Regions from separate parts of the Homo sapiens genome. Here regions 1 and 2 are each linked to region 3. The links are contacts of gene promoters, found by promoter capture Hi-C in blood cells and fetal thymus (Javierre and others, 2016). All regions are on one chromosome and are shown on one strand. The core of a region is centred on a gene start or on the middle of the fragment in contact, and the rest is flanking DNA. Distances in the headings are between cores, read along the strand shown.

Region 1 (4,592 bases), core at 361-2,860, 340 kb before region 3:
TACATTATTAAGAAATGAATATTTGGAGGTGTCTATTTTTTTCTGTGGCAATATCAATAATGACAGATATAAACATGGATAGGTAGATAGATAAATTTACAATGACATAGTTATACAGACAGAAATAAATATAGTTATAAAAACGTAAATCAGATTGTACTTTACATGTTGAGTTGTGATATACTTTTTTAAAACTTAACAGTGTATATCATGAATGTTTCCGTGTAATGAAATATTTCTCTGGATGTAGTAGAATATATGTAACAAAAACCATATTGTTAGACATCTAGATTGCTACAATTTTTTTTTTTTTTTGCATTGGAGTTTCCCTCTTGTTGCCGAGTGCAATGACATGACCTCGGCTCACCGCAACCTCCGCCTCCCAGGTTCAAGCGATTCTCCTGCCTCAGTCTCCCGAATAGCTAGGACTACAGGCATGCATCAGCGTGACTGGTTAATTTTGTATTTTTAGTAGAGAAGGGGTTTCTCCGTGTTGGTCAGGCTGGTCTTGAACCCGACCTCAGGTGATCTGCCTACTTCGGTCTCCCAAAGTGCTGGGATTACAGGTGTGAGCCACCGTGCCCGGCGATTGCTACAAAAATTTTAACCTCTATAAATAGTATTGAAATAAACATCTTTGTAAAAATACATTTGTGCATATTCATGATGATTTACTCAGGATAAATTCCTAGTGAAATTTCTTTCTTTTAGTATCAAATGATTTTATTATAAATCTGAAGCCATTTATTGACCATTCACTTTTTCAAATAACACAAACATGAGAATAAACTAAACACACCCAAGACTCACCAGCCCTTGCAGGACAGGAAGAGGCCCTGGACAGACAGCTTGCAAATGTTTTTCCTTATACCTAATGTCCAAGCTTCCTCACACATTCTAGGGTTCCATGTTTTGTCACCTCTTACAAGGGAAAGGGAACGTAAAAGATTCATGTACAGGAAGGTCATAACAACCTTCAACCATCAAGATATCTGATGCTAACGGTTTGTACATTTTAGTTTGCAACTCTGAGAAGTAACGTCAAATAAGCACTGTCAAATCCCCACTTCCAGCTACCTCTTAAATTGCCGTTATTCTTTGAAATTATCTTTGGGACTGGTTATGTTCTTTAATTGTAGCTTTTGTGTATTACAGAGCACAAACCCAAAATCCATGTGCAGTCTCCATGTTCAAGTATAAAAGTTTGTCTCAGGACAACCTCAGGTTGCTGCAGTGTCTCTCTATCTCCCTGTAGTGTCTACTGGGCGTTGTACCTTTGGACAGGCTGGTCAAATGGCGGCACAACGAAGGGGACAACACAGTCAACTTCCCCAACGTCAAACTCTCTCCCCGTTCAAACTGGACACTGCCCACAGTCAAGGCTGAAATACCGAAATCAGTGAGACCTCGGCCTATCTTCATTCTGAAGTTGCACTCTTATGTAACCATGTAACCGAAGCTACTTCTTCACCATTAACTCAAATGGAGCTTTCAAAACGGGTGGGACATATTCTTGGGAAGCGCCCTGAGATGGAAGGCTGGAGGGTACTGGTCTTTGGGCTCTGGAGGGGGCACTGGCACCATTGCTGTCTTCTGGGCGCCCAGGATCTCGTGAATTGCTCATTCCACTGGTGGCCTGGGGATGTGGTTTAGTTCTGGATCCACCATCTGATAAAGAACCCCGTCAACTCCAGCTTTCAACGTCCCTGACTGAAAAACACTCTGCCTCAGGCCACTTCGCAATCAGTTTTTGCGCATTGTAGGATTCCATTCCTGCTTGTCCAGGTGTGTGGACACCGAATGCTGGGCCTTCTGCCTTAATTTTGATAAGCTGGCTTGGTGTCTACGGGGGCCAGGCAGCACCTGCGGAAGCTGCTAAACGGCCCTGAGCCGCTCCAGGATGAGCGGCGGGTCCCCGGGATGCAGTGGCGGGATCACGGTGCCCGCGTGGCCCCGGTCTCGCCCATCGAGGGAGACCAAATACGGCTTCTTCTCCGGGACAGAAGGCTTGGTGCGCAGAGGTGACGGCGAGGGTAGCAGATGAGGAGGCCAACATCTCACTGGGCTTGTGTTTTCATCTGGGTTTCTCTATCCCGGGGCTCCTGCGTATCAGGGCAGGGCCGTGGGCGCCGCGCGCAGCGCGGAGCATGCGCAGGCCCCTTGGGGTTGAGGCGTGACCGGAATGCTCAGCTCCGGGTGTCCGGGCTCCCTGCGGCCTTCGGTGAAGGCTGGTCTCTTCCATCTGGCCTGGCCTTTGTGCAGCTGAGGCAAATGACTGCTGTCCCGGAGGCTTCTTTCCCCCTTGTAACAGATACGTTTTTTTCATGAAAAGCTTTTAAAACTGACAATTAGAACGAAGAGAGTTTGTGAAAGAAGCTTGAGAAAAGTGCAAGTTAATATTCAATAAATTCAATAATTTGTAGATAGTTTTTGCACCTTTTCAGTTAACTACAGTAAGTTAGGCAATTGTAAAATATAGCTTAAACAAATCAGAAGCATTTGTTTTATAGGAAAAAATGTTTATTACGTGAGAGTTTTTCAGTGCCCTTAGAACCGGCAAACCACCTGACACTAAACAATGAAAGATGAGACAAAGATAGTTTCAGGATTCACTTGAGATGAGGTCAAAACAAGATTATTTGTCTAGGGTACATAGCCTGCACTCTACAAGGAAAAGACACACTGATAAGATCAGCTAATTGGAAAAAATATAAATCCCGTATACAGTGAATGAAGACCATGTGAGGAATGAAGTTTCTAGAGCCACAGAGCCTCCTTGCAATCTTTTGCACCGGAGAGCTGGCCACCAAGCTGCACACACAGTGAAGTTCTTGGGAATTTTATCTGAGTCCAAGTTCTGCCTCAGTATGTTGATTCCCTCTCTGAAGTTCTCTTAGGTGTTTATGTCTTCTATGGCCACACGGTTGGAAATCTTTCTCTTTCTTCCCATCAAGTCTTATCTAGTGACTTTTCTCTCCCACGCATCCATGACACTGTGTTCTTATTAAATGCCATGACTTTTAGTGTGTTCACCAAAGTAAATTAAAAATAATGATAGATTTGCGACGCTAATGATTTTACTAAATGCAAAGCCCAAGATGAATGTTTTAGAATGAGAAAAATGAATCAATATGTTCATAACAAAACTTTATTGAGGTAATAATTTAATAATTTGCTTTGTCACTAAGAGGGATTAAAGTTAACCTTCCTACTTGTAATAACTTTGTACCATTCTCTCATGCACTTCTAATTTACAGCTTGCAGTATCAGACACTGAGGGTAGCCAGGAATACTTACTACTATAAACTTATCCAGTGTCATGTTGTATGCAGCTTGACCTAAATTTTCCAAAATCTTTTTTTTTTGAGACAGGGTCTTGCTCTGTTGCCCAGGCTGGAGTGCAGTGGTGCAATCTCAGCTCACTGCAGCCTTGACCTCCCACGCTCAAGTGATCCTCCTCCCTCAGCCTTCCAAGTAACTGGAATTACAGGTGCACACCACCATGCCCGGCCTATTTTTTTTTTTTTTTGGAGACAGGGTTTCACCATGTTGGCCAAGCTAATCTCGAACTCCTGAGCTCAAGCAATCCTCCTGCTGCAGGCATGAGCCACAGTGCTCGGCCAACAATGTTTGTTTTTTAACTCAACGTCTGGTATATTGCAAATATTTTTCCAAAGTTCTTTTCAGAGCTACCTTCACTTCCTTATTTTTCAGGCTATAGATGAGGGAATTCAGCATGGGAGTGACTACAGTATACTGCACAGAGAAGATCAACTCTATGGGGGAACCTGAGTTTGGCATGAGATGGCGGAGCAAACCTGAGCCATAGTAAAGTGTCACTGCAGTGAGGTGGGCAGAGCAGGTGGAGAAGGCCTTGCTTCTGCCCGAGGTAGAGCTGATGCTTAGGATGGTAGAGATTATACGGGTGTAGGATAAGAAGACCAAAAGGAAGTTTCCCAGCCCATGTAGGAGAGTGGAGCAGAGCAAGGCGATGAGGCTTCTGGAGATATCAGAGCAGGACAGAGGGAGGAGGGATGGCATCTCATAGCTGTAGTGGTGAATGATTTTGGCTTCACAAAAGACCATGTTTACAGCTAGGAGGACATTGATGAGTGCGTCCAGAAAGCCCAGTCCCCATGAGCCCCACACAAGGTGCATATACAGCTGTTTACCCATGATCTGTCCATAAAGTAGTGGGCGGCAGATGGCAGCATGGCGGTCATAGGCCATCCCTGAGAGAAGGCAGGCTTCAGTCCCTGCAGTGACAAACACAAAGAAGACCTGAGCCAGGCAGCCCTCTACTGAAATGGTTTTCCTCTGTGACAGGAGGTTCTCCAGCATCTTGGGCACAATGACTGAAGAGAAGCAGAGATCAACAAAAGAGAGGTGACTCAGGAAGAAATACATGGGCTTATGGAGACAAGAATCAGCCCTGATCATGAGCAGCAGCATCAGGTTTTCCATTATGGTCAGGAGGTAAATCCCCAGGAACAGCACAAAGAGCAGAGCCCGGATGTTGGGGTCGGCAGACAGCCCAAGGAGGAGGAACTCGGTGATGGTGCTGTGATTCCCCAAGGCCATTTACAAAGGCT
Region 2 (4,336 bases), core at 322-2,821, 260 kb after region 3:
ACTTGCTGGGATCCTTGTGTCAGTGCTCAGAGTTTCACTACCATTGCTGTCTAAATGAGACATCCAGGCTCTGGTCCACTCCATTCCTCCCATTTGTAGACATTGATTCCACTCTCTCTCCTCATCAGCCAGTCCCTCTGTGGAGAGGAGAGCTGGTGGTGGATGCTGGTGGACTTGGGCAGGAGGACATTGCCTTTGCCATGACTGCACAGCTGTCTTCCCACCATAGCTATGTCTTGCCACATTGGCAGGCAGGGCTCCTGGGGATTCTCTTACCTCAAGGGGAACAGTGCAAAGAGTGAAGGGCAAGATGATACAGGTAGATATAAACAGAAAGGAAAAAAAGAAAAGAAAGACAGATGATATTTCCATGCCAGGCAGGAGGTGATGTAGCTTCCAAGAGGAAGGGGAGGTAGAACATGGTGCTCAAGGATAAAGCCCAACTCCCTAACACGCATGAAAATAAATGACTTCCCACTCTGGCTCAAACAGCTTTGCAGACTCTCCATGCCACTCCTTTCCCACTGATATATCTGAAGATACTGAGCCCCTTGCTCTCCCCTAAAGTCTCTGAGTGCTCCATATCATCATGCTCATGCTCTTCCCTCTGAATAGAAAACTGTTTGCATTAGTTTTCTAGTGCCGTATAATAAGTGCCACAGCCTAATGATAAATAGCATCCATGTATTAGTCACTGCTCTGTAGGCCAGAAGTCCAGGTGACCCCTGCTAGGTTATCTGTCTGGAGTCTCATAAGCCCAAAATTCATGTGTCGCCTGGGTAGCCTCTTTCTGGAGGCTCTGGGAAAGAATCTGCTTCCAAGTTCATTCAGGCTGTTGGCAGAATTCAGTTCCAGTGGCTGCAGGCCTGAGGTTCCTATTTCTCAGCTGGCTGTCACTGGGGTCTCTCTTGAGTCTGTAAAGCCATCTGCATTGCTTCTCCTGTGGTCCCTCCATCTTCAAGTCAGCAATGGCATATCAAGCCCTTCTCATGCCTCAAGTCTCTCACTTATTCTTCTATCACCAGCCAGATACAATGCCCTGGTTTTACAGGGCTCATGTGATTAGATCAGACCCACCTGGATTATCTCCATTTACCATATAATCATGGGAGTAAGACCAGGGGGTGAAGGTCATGGGGCCATCCTAAAATCTACTTATTTCACTTTCTCTCTTTAGTTCAAATGTTAACTTCTCCATGACACCATCTTGGTCTCTTCACTCAGAATCAACAGCTGTCCTAGAGCTTTACTGACTCTTGACTAGACCTCTTATGATGTATTAATGAGGTATTTGAGAGTAGGCACTGTATGTTACTCATCTTTGTATCTTCTATTGCACCAATGCCCATCACTTAGTAGGTATTCAGTAAACATCTATTGAAAGAAAGGAAGGAAAGAGGGAAGGAAGGAAGGAAGGAAGGAAGGAAGGAAGGAATCAAGGAAGGAATCAAGAAAGGAACAGAAGAGGAAGAGGAAGAGGCTACAAAGACATAATGATAAGGACCTGAAAGAGCATCTGGTTTGAAGGGTCACATTTCTGTAAAGATATTGAGGGTACTTTGGGTCAATCCATTTTCTTTTTCTTTCTTTCTTTCTTTTTTTTTTTTTTTTTTTTGAGACAGAGTCTCTCTCTGTCACTCAGGCTGGAGTGCAATGGTACAATCTCAGCTCACTGCAATCTCCACCTCCCGAGTTCAAGCAATTCTCCTGCCTCAGCCTCCTAAGCTGGGATTACAGGCACCCACCACCATGCCTGGCTAATTTTTTGTATTTAGTGGAGACAGGGTTTCACCATGTTGGCCAGGCTGGTCTCGAACTCCTCACCTCAGGTGATTACCCGCCTTGGCCTCCCAAAGTGCTGGGATTACAGGCATGAGCCACTGCGCCTGGCCTCAATCCATTTTCTTAAGCTGCTTCCTCCTCCTCCTCCTCCTCTTTCTTCCTCTTCAAACTTGATTTGAAAAAGTTTCAGACTCTGCACTTATTACTCACCACTCCCAGAGGTAGTACTACTCCCAAGAACTAATGTTTTATACCTTTGTTTCCCAGCAAAGTGCATGATTGATTCAAAAGAGCCAATTCAAGAGGTTTGTCCTCAGTAGGTAAGCCCAGTGGTCATTCCTTCTCTTGCAGGGCAGATGACAATAGGACAGGCCACGAAGGACAAATTCTGGAGGTGTGGGAATGTTTTCAGTTTCAGACAGATATGAACCAGGCAAGATCCCTGAGTTTAGCACCAAGGTTTTGATGGGGATGAGAAAATTCCAACTCTTTTCTTTTTGGAAAAATCATACATTTTGATAATAGGTTATTAGATTTCTTGCCTTTATGCCATCAACTGAGGAGTAGGGGCAATGATCCCATTAATACAATCCTTCTCTTTCTTTAGTAATAAGGCATGGCTAGACGCACTCCTTCAGATAAGGCAAGTAGCACCAACCCGTGGCCCAGCTGGGCCCCATGTGTAGCCCCTCTTGGTGGAGTTCCGAGCTGACCCTTGCTGGTTCTTTTCTCATGTTTCCAGTTTCTGCTTCTTCCTACCCTAGACCCAGGTACGAAAATGGAGATGGGTGACCTACATAGGGAAGTACATTCTTTTCATGCATTAACATTTTTAAAAAAGTAATATGTGTATATGGTAAAAAGCCAAATGAAACAGAAAGATAAGATGAAAAGTAAACATCTCCCTCAACACATCCCTCACCTGACCCAAGTTTCTCTCTCTAAAGCCTGTCATTGTTGATAGTTTCTTACATCTTTTTCTAAAAAAAAAAAAAATATGGTGCCTGCATTTTAAACTCAATCATAATACCTCCGCAGCTAGTACATGGTTTAATTGGAGACTTATTTCCGCAAAGATCATGTTCTCTCCTCTGAACTATTAAGCCAATTTAGAAGCATTTAGAAAAACTATTTTTCAAGCAAATTAAAGTATTGAACCTGTTTACAGTTCATCCAAGACAAAGATGAAATGTTATTTTAACTTCCCCAAGATAGCAGCTTCCTCTCCCTCCAGCCCACGAGCCTTTCTCAATTCCCAGTTCACCTTTCTCCTGCCCAGGTAAAAGCAGTTAAGACATTTAAAAAGACATATTTGCAAAGACATATCAGTAACTCCCCCACAGAAGGTAAAGTGGACACAACAACCTCCTTAGCACGTTCTCAGTCTGTCCTGATTTAAGCCCTTGTTGAGGGTGGTAACTTTTCTGTTTATAAATAAAACTTCAGCAGAAGCAAGTGGGTCTAATGCTAGGTACAACTGGACTGAGAAAGACCTTAAGTCAAAGACATATCCTTTTTGAGACAGGGTCTTGCTCTGTTGCCCAGGCTGGTGTACAGTGGTGTGAATACAGCTCACTGCAGCCTTTACCCCTTGGGCTCAAGTGATCCTCCCACCTCAGCCTCCTGGGTAGCTGGGACTACAGGTGTGCACCACCATGCCCGGCTAATTTCTGTATTTTTCGTAGAGATAGTGTCCCACTATATTGTCCAGGCTGGTCTCGAACTCCTGAGTTCAAGCAACCCACCTGCCTTGGCCTCCCAAAGTCCTGGGGTTACAGGTGTGAGCCACTGTGTCCAGCCTCAGAGACATAGCCTAAGAGAGATCTACTCATCTAGATATTGGGGCAATCTTAGGTAAAAGTCTCCATCTACTTATTACTACTTACTTATAGGATCTTTTCCATTCCCACTCTCATTATCTATATATCTTTGCTCTGTTTATAGCCTCCTGGGTCCTCCCGACTCTCTAATTCTCTAAACTAGCTTTCAGACAGAATCTAAAATTCATTTAGGTACAAAGTCATGCATAAAACCTAAAGCAGAGTCTCCAAAAGTATGAGCAATGGAAAAATTTCCCACTTGATGCTTCAAGGAATAGTTCCAATAGGTTTGGAAAACCCCACATACTATGTCTCTTGCTTGAAGGTTCCGATACAGATTTGCTCATGGAAGACCCTGAGAAGTCCTGTGTTGAAGAAATCTACTTGATATTGGTTCATCCATTCATTCAAATATTTATGGAGTTCCTACAGTGTGCCGGGGTTATTCTAGACACTAGACTGATGGCAATAAATGAGATCGACATGGTTTTTAATTTTAATTGGAAGAGCGGATAATGCACAATTAAAACTCACAGTTTCAAATAGTGATAAAGACTGCCATAAAGAGTGATGTGGTAAGGGTGTCTACCTTAGATGGAGTGGGGAGGAAAGACCCTCTCTGGGATGCGACATTTGACCAGAAACCTGAATGACGAGGAGGCCAGTTATGTGAAGATCTGGGAAGAGCATCCTGGGCGACGGGACTGGCATATGCAAAGGTGCTGAAGCTCAAA
Region 3 (4,473 bases), core at 1,797-4,296:
TTCTTGTCCCCATTTTACATATCCAGAAACTAAGCCTCAAGCACTCAACTGTTAGAACTGAGATTTAAGTCTTTAGTGCTCTCTCTTTCCACCACTCTGCAGCTACCAGCAGCTAGCGCACACACACACACACACACACACACACACACGCACATATACACACACACATGCACATATACACACGGCACCCTAGCTCATTCTGCTCTCAAATTTTGTTCAGGGGCAGCCTCAAGAAATCTCCATTGCCCAAGGGAGTAGACTAGAGCTGTCAGTCAAGCCCTCTGGGGAACACCTTACCCGGGTTCTCCACTAGAGGCCTGAGGCAGTTATTGTGGTTTCCCTTTGTGATGTGTCACTATTTCCAGAGATCCCAGGCAATCCCTCCAGAACAATACCCCCACCCCACTCCCTCCATGGAACAGGTGCAGTATCTGCCATTCCAGGACCCAGATTTGGAAATCATTTCCCAGGGCTTCACTGGGATGCTTCACTGAAAAAGAAGTCTCCTGCACATTTGGAGTTCTGGCTACTAAAAACTCATGTTAGCATGGGAGTCTCAACACTTACCACCTCCTTCCCCAGGGCAGCTTGAGGTCAAGGTCCAGGACAGAAGGGAAAGCAGGGAGAGTTGGCAATGCCTGTCCCAACCAGGGCAGGGACAGTCAACTCCTTGAACTGGAGGCAAGGAGAGAGGAGGGAAGGCATGGCCCCTGCAGTTCCCACTAAGACCCACCCTGATATCCCCTTAGTACCAGTCAGCAAGGAGGGGAGATGACGCCTTTTTATTAAGGTTAACACCAAGGAAAGCATTGAGAAGGAATACACAAAGGAGGGGGAGGGCACACAAAGTCACCACTTGAGGAGGTGGAAGGGCGGCACATCAGTAAAAGAACCTCAGGACAGCCACATGCTCCATGCCCTGGTTGGGGGAAGAGGGAGAGAAAAGCGCCATTGATAGCTTGGAGCTCGTAGAAGGGTCTGAAGCCCCTGAACCTAACACCAGAGCCACAAGCCCTGCCCCTGAGGGCTCACACACTACTACACAAGTAGACACACATAACACACACAAGACATTATGAAGGCAACACCGAGAGGCAGTGGGCAAGGACATATTGACAGAAAAAGGAACTGAAGTTAAGCAGGTGTAGCCAGGAGAGACAGTTTTTGGCTGCGGCCCCAAGAGTCCCTCAAATGTCCCCTAAATCTGGGCTGCTGCTGAGCACCCCCGAGTCTCTGCCTGTGAACCGGGCTCTTTGTTCTCTAAGCCCCAGGGAGTGGAAAAGCAATCCCAGATGAAGTCAGTGACAAGGCAGGATCCGCTCTGCATGCAAAATCCTAGAGGTTGAGCTATTATGTCTTCATGCACATTCATAGCCAGCTCCTCCCAGCCCAGGGGCCCTTGGAACCCCATTCACCCAGATTCCTAGGGCTGCAGTTCCCTCCTCAAGCTTCCTTTACCAATCAGCAGCCGCAGAGATCTGTGAGGGGGAGAGGCTTCTGCAGAGCACTGAATATCTTGGATTTCAGCAGAAGGGTAAATTTCCTGTTGCCAGAACAAAATACCCCCAATTCCTTAATTTCCAGGTAAATTGTTAGAGATTATTTGCCATGGTCCTAGGTAAGTCCTTTTTCAGAATAGAAAAAGCAGAATTTTATTTACACAATTCACGGGTTCTCCTGTTGTCTGGGAAGGGGGAAAGGACAGGATAGGGATGGATGGGAGTCCAGAGATGGGCGCTTCCTCTCCCGGAGCCTCACCTTTCCGCAGTTCGCTATAATTCGCTTAGTTGGGCAGAAAGAATTCTCGATGCTCCCAAAGTCCTTCACCCTACAAATCCTTCCTCGAGGGAGTCTCTCTCTGCCTGACCCACAAGAGCAGCTGTCCAAGTGAAGCATGCCGCACCGCGCCGTTCAGTCCCCCTCGCGTCATGCACTCGGAAACCCAAAGACAGCCCGGGAAGGTAGTGCCCCACGGAGTCCCCTCACAGGGAGGCCTCGCCCTCCAGTTGCAGCAGGGTAATGTCGGGCATGTCGAGGGGCTCCACAAGTGGCCCGTCCCCCCCAAGGAGACCAGCACAGGGGCTTTCGGGGCGCTCACAGTGACTGGAGGGTGTGGCGGGGCTGGGCATCTCCTTCTCTTCTTCCTCTTCCTCCTCGTCCTCGGGATCGCGACCCAGCAAGCCGCTGTCCCCGATCCCAGGCGAAGGAGTCTCCGGCTCTTGGGGGTCGCTCTGGAAGCTCCCCTTGCCGCCGACCACGCCCAAGCCGCCCTGGCGGGGCGCAGTGGTCATAATCTGGCACATGGAGACGATGGCTCGCTGGTTGGCGCACACGTCGTCCGAGAGCACCTGGATGTGCGAGGCCTGCTCGTCCAGGGCCCCCCTCATGGCCCTCACGTCCTCAAACAGGGCTTGCAGCTGGGCTTTCAGGTGCTCCATCAGTTCCTTCATGCCGCCGTTGTACTCCCCGGAGATCACGTCCCCCACTGCCGGCACGGTGGACACCTCCAGGGGCGCCGGCATGTCGCCGCCGTCCTTGGTCATGATCTCCAGCAGACCGTCCTCCATTGAGTGGCAGAAGCGGGTGGCGGAGGCTCTGGGTCGCGTCCAGCCCGGCCTCCGGGGTGGGGGAGGGGGTGGAGGGGGAGAGGTCCCGGGAGGGGCTAGCGGGAGCCGAGGGAAGCGGAGGCTCCCGAGACTGGCGGGGAGCCGACGTGAGAGACGAGTCCTGGGCAGAGGGCGCAGGCAGGATCGCGGGAGGCCGAGAAGAGGCTGCGGGACGAGGACCCGGCGAGGGTCCCAGAGCCGGCGTCTCTTGGGATCGCCCCGGGACGAAAGTGCCCTGCCCTGCCTCGCCTCCCGGATCGCGCCCGTGTCAGCGCCGCCCTCTGGGCGCCACAAGCAGAGAGCGCCTGCCGGTTCCGTGGGTCACAGACGCGCTCGCGGAGGGGTCCGCGTCCAGGCTGAGGCCAGCGGCGCGTCGGACTCGGGACTCCCCCAGGCCATTACCGGGCAGCGCCCGCGAGTGTGGCAGCAGCAGCTGGGGTGGGTCTCCCGGGGGTGTCGCGGATGCTCCTCTGTTTCCAAGGCGACGCACGGCACGTAAATGACGTGTGTCTCCATGGTAACCAGGAAGTGGCGAAGAAAAAGGGAGGATGGCTGGAAGCTGCAGTGGGGCTCTGGAGTCTGGACTAGCGGGGTGGGGGGAGGAGAGGGGACGCTACAGTGGCTTCGGCCAAGGCTGGAAAGAGCGTGTGGTCGCAATGTTTAATAGGGAAGTATGAGAGAGCCGTCTGCTGCAGAAACCTCCAAGTCCGGGAGAGATCGTCCCTCCCCTAGCCGGGGTATGAGACCCAGCGAGACTGCCCTGGAAAGATTTTTCCAGCCCGCATTCCTTTCTCAGAGGATGGCGCTAAAGTCGAGTCCTGCCTCCCTGTCCTCCAGCGATGCGCAGGAAAGCGGAGAGGGTAGAGAGGCTGTTGCTAATGATCCCAGAGTTGAGCTGGGGCACGGTGGCGCTCTGGAGCCGGACCCACCGGGCCTGACGGTGCAGAGGCAGGAGGAGGGCGCTACGGAGGTTTCTGCAGTAAATCAGCCCTCTAGCTATAGAAATCACCGGAGCGGGGGAAGGATGGGACTCCCTCCTTTATGAGACCCTACCGCTCCTACGCAGGTCTCTGGGAGTTTGTCCCAGATGGGGAGGCCAAGTGCTTAAGTTTTGAGAATGAAAGCTCCATAAGGGGAGAGATTTTTGTCTCCCCTGCACCCTCCATCACGGAATCCCCAGCTCCTAAAATAGTGCCTGGCACCTAGTATGTAGATGCTTAATATAGTTATTGAATGAATAACAAAAACCACCAAGTCCCACGCTCTCATCCAGAACTCCCCAAGCCAAACGTAGTGGGTTTTAGGAGACCTGAATTCAGTTTCGTTTCTGCCACTTATTCATTCAGCGACCTTGGCCACATCATTTTCCTCATCTGTTAGGGAATTGGACTGGATAATCTATAATACTATTTCTAATTCTGAATAACAGTCTGCATCATCTCACAGGTGAAAAGGTAAACTGTTGACCGTTGTGTGGAGGGTATGGATGGGGGGACTGTGTGTTAGAGTAATTCCCGCTCTCTCTTTCAGTGCCCAAGTTCAGACATACACTGAGTATCCCCAACCTTTGTGACAAGCCCTTTCCCTATTTAAGGGGTGGAGCAGGAAGGGTGGAGGAAGAAGAAAAATTGTCTTTAATATACGTAGATGATTGCAGATTGAGAAGGAATCAGCACCTGGGCAGAGCACAATAATTAATAATGACCCTAGGAAATTAGGGAAGCCAAGTGATCGGAAGCCAAAAATGAAGTTCATAAGAATAAATCTGGGAAAGAGAAACAAACTATATCACTTCAAGATAGAGAAGAACTACGTAAAGGTGAGTGTTTTGTAGACTGGCGGTTCAGTGACAGCAAATGTGTTACCT

What was found. The method cuts DNA at HindIII sites, captures the fragments that hold promoters and counts their contacts. A CHiCAGO score of 5 or more calls a contact.
Region 1: a contact is called between a fragment that was not itself captured here and the fragment with the promoter of CCDC184 in region 3, in 1 of 17 cell types (M1 macrophages). The highest score is 5.2, in M1 macrophages.
Region 2: a contact is called between a fragment that was not itself captured here and the fragment with the promoter of CCDC184 in region 3, in 2 of 17 cell types (naive B cells and megakaryocytes). The highest score is 5.7, in naive B cells.

Annotation. Positions count from the first base shown.
Region 1 is chr12:48,525,621-48,530,212 of GRCh38, reverse strand. OR8S1 (olfactory receptor family 8 subfamily S member 1) reads right to left here and starts at 4,581. Exons shown (of 1, transcript NM_001390849.1): 1 at 3,643-4,581. The coding sequence starts at 4,581. The coding sequence ends at 3,643. RefSeq lists a silencer at 3,876-4,076. The HindIII fragment of the contact is 1,449 bases long and covers 886-2,334 here.
Region 2 is chr12:47,922,667-47,927,002 of GRCh38, reverse strand. No RefSeq gene overlaps it. Among named protein-coding and RNA genes, the nearest start is that of VDR, 20 kb to the right of the region's middle. The HindIII fragment of the contact is 9,696 bases long and covers 1-4,336 here.
Region 3 is chr12:48,182,217-48,186,689 of GRCh38, reverse strand. CCDC184 (coiled-coil domain containing 184) reads right to left here and starts at 3,046. Exons shown (of 1, transcript NM_001013635.4): 1 at 764-3,046. The coding sequence starts at 2,567. The coding sequence ends at 1,983. The HindIII fragment of the contact is 3,853 bases long and covers 1,451-4,473 here.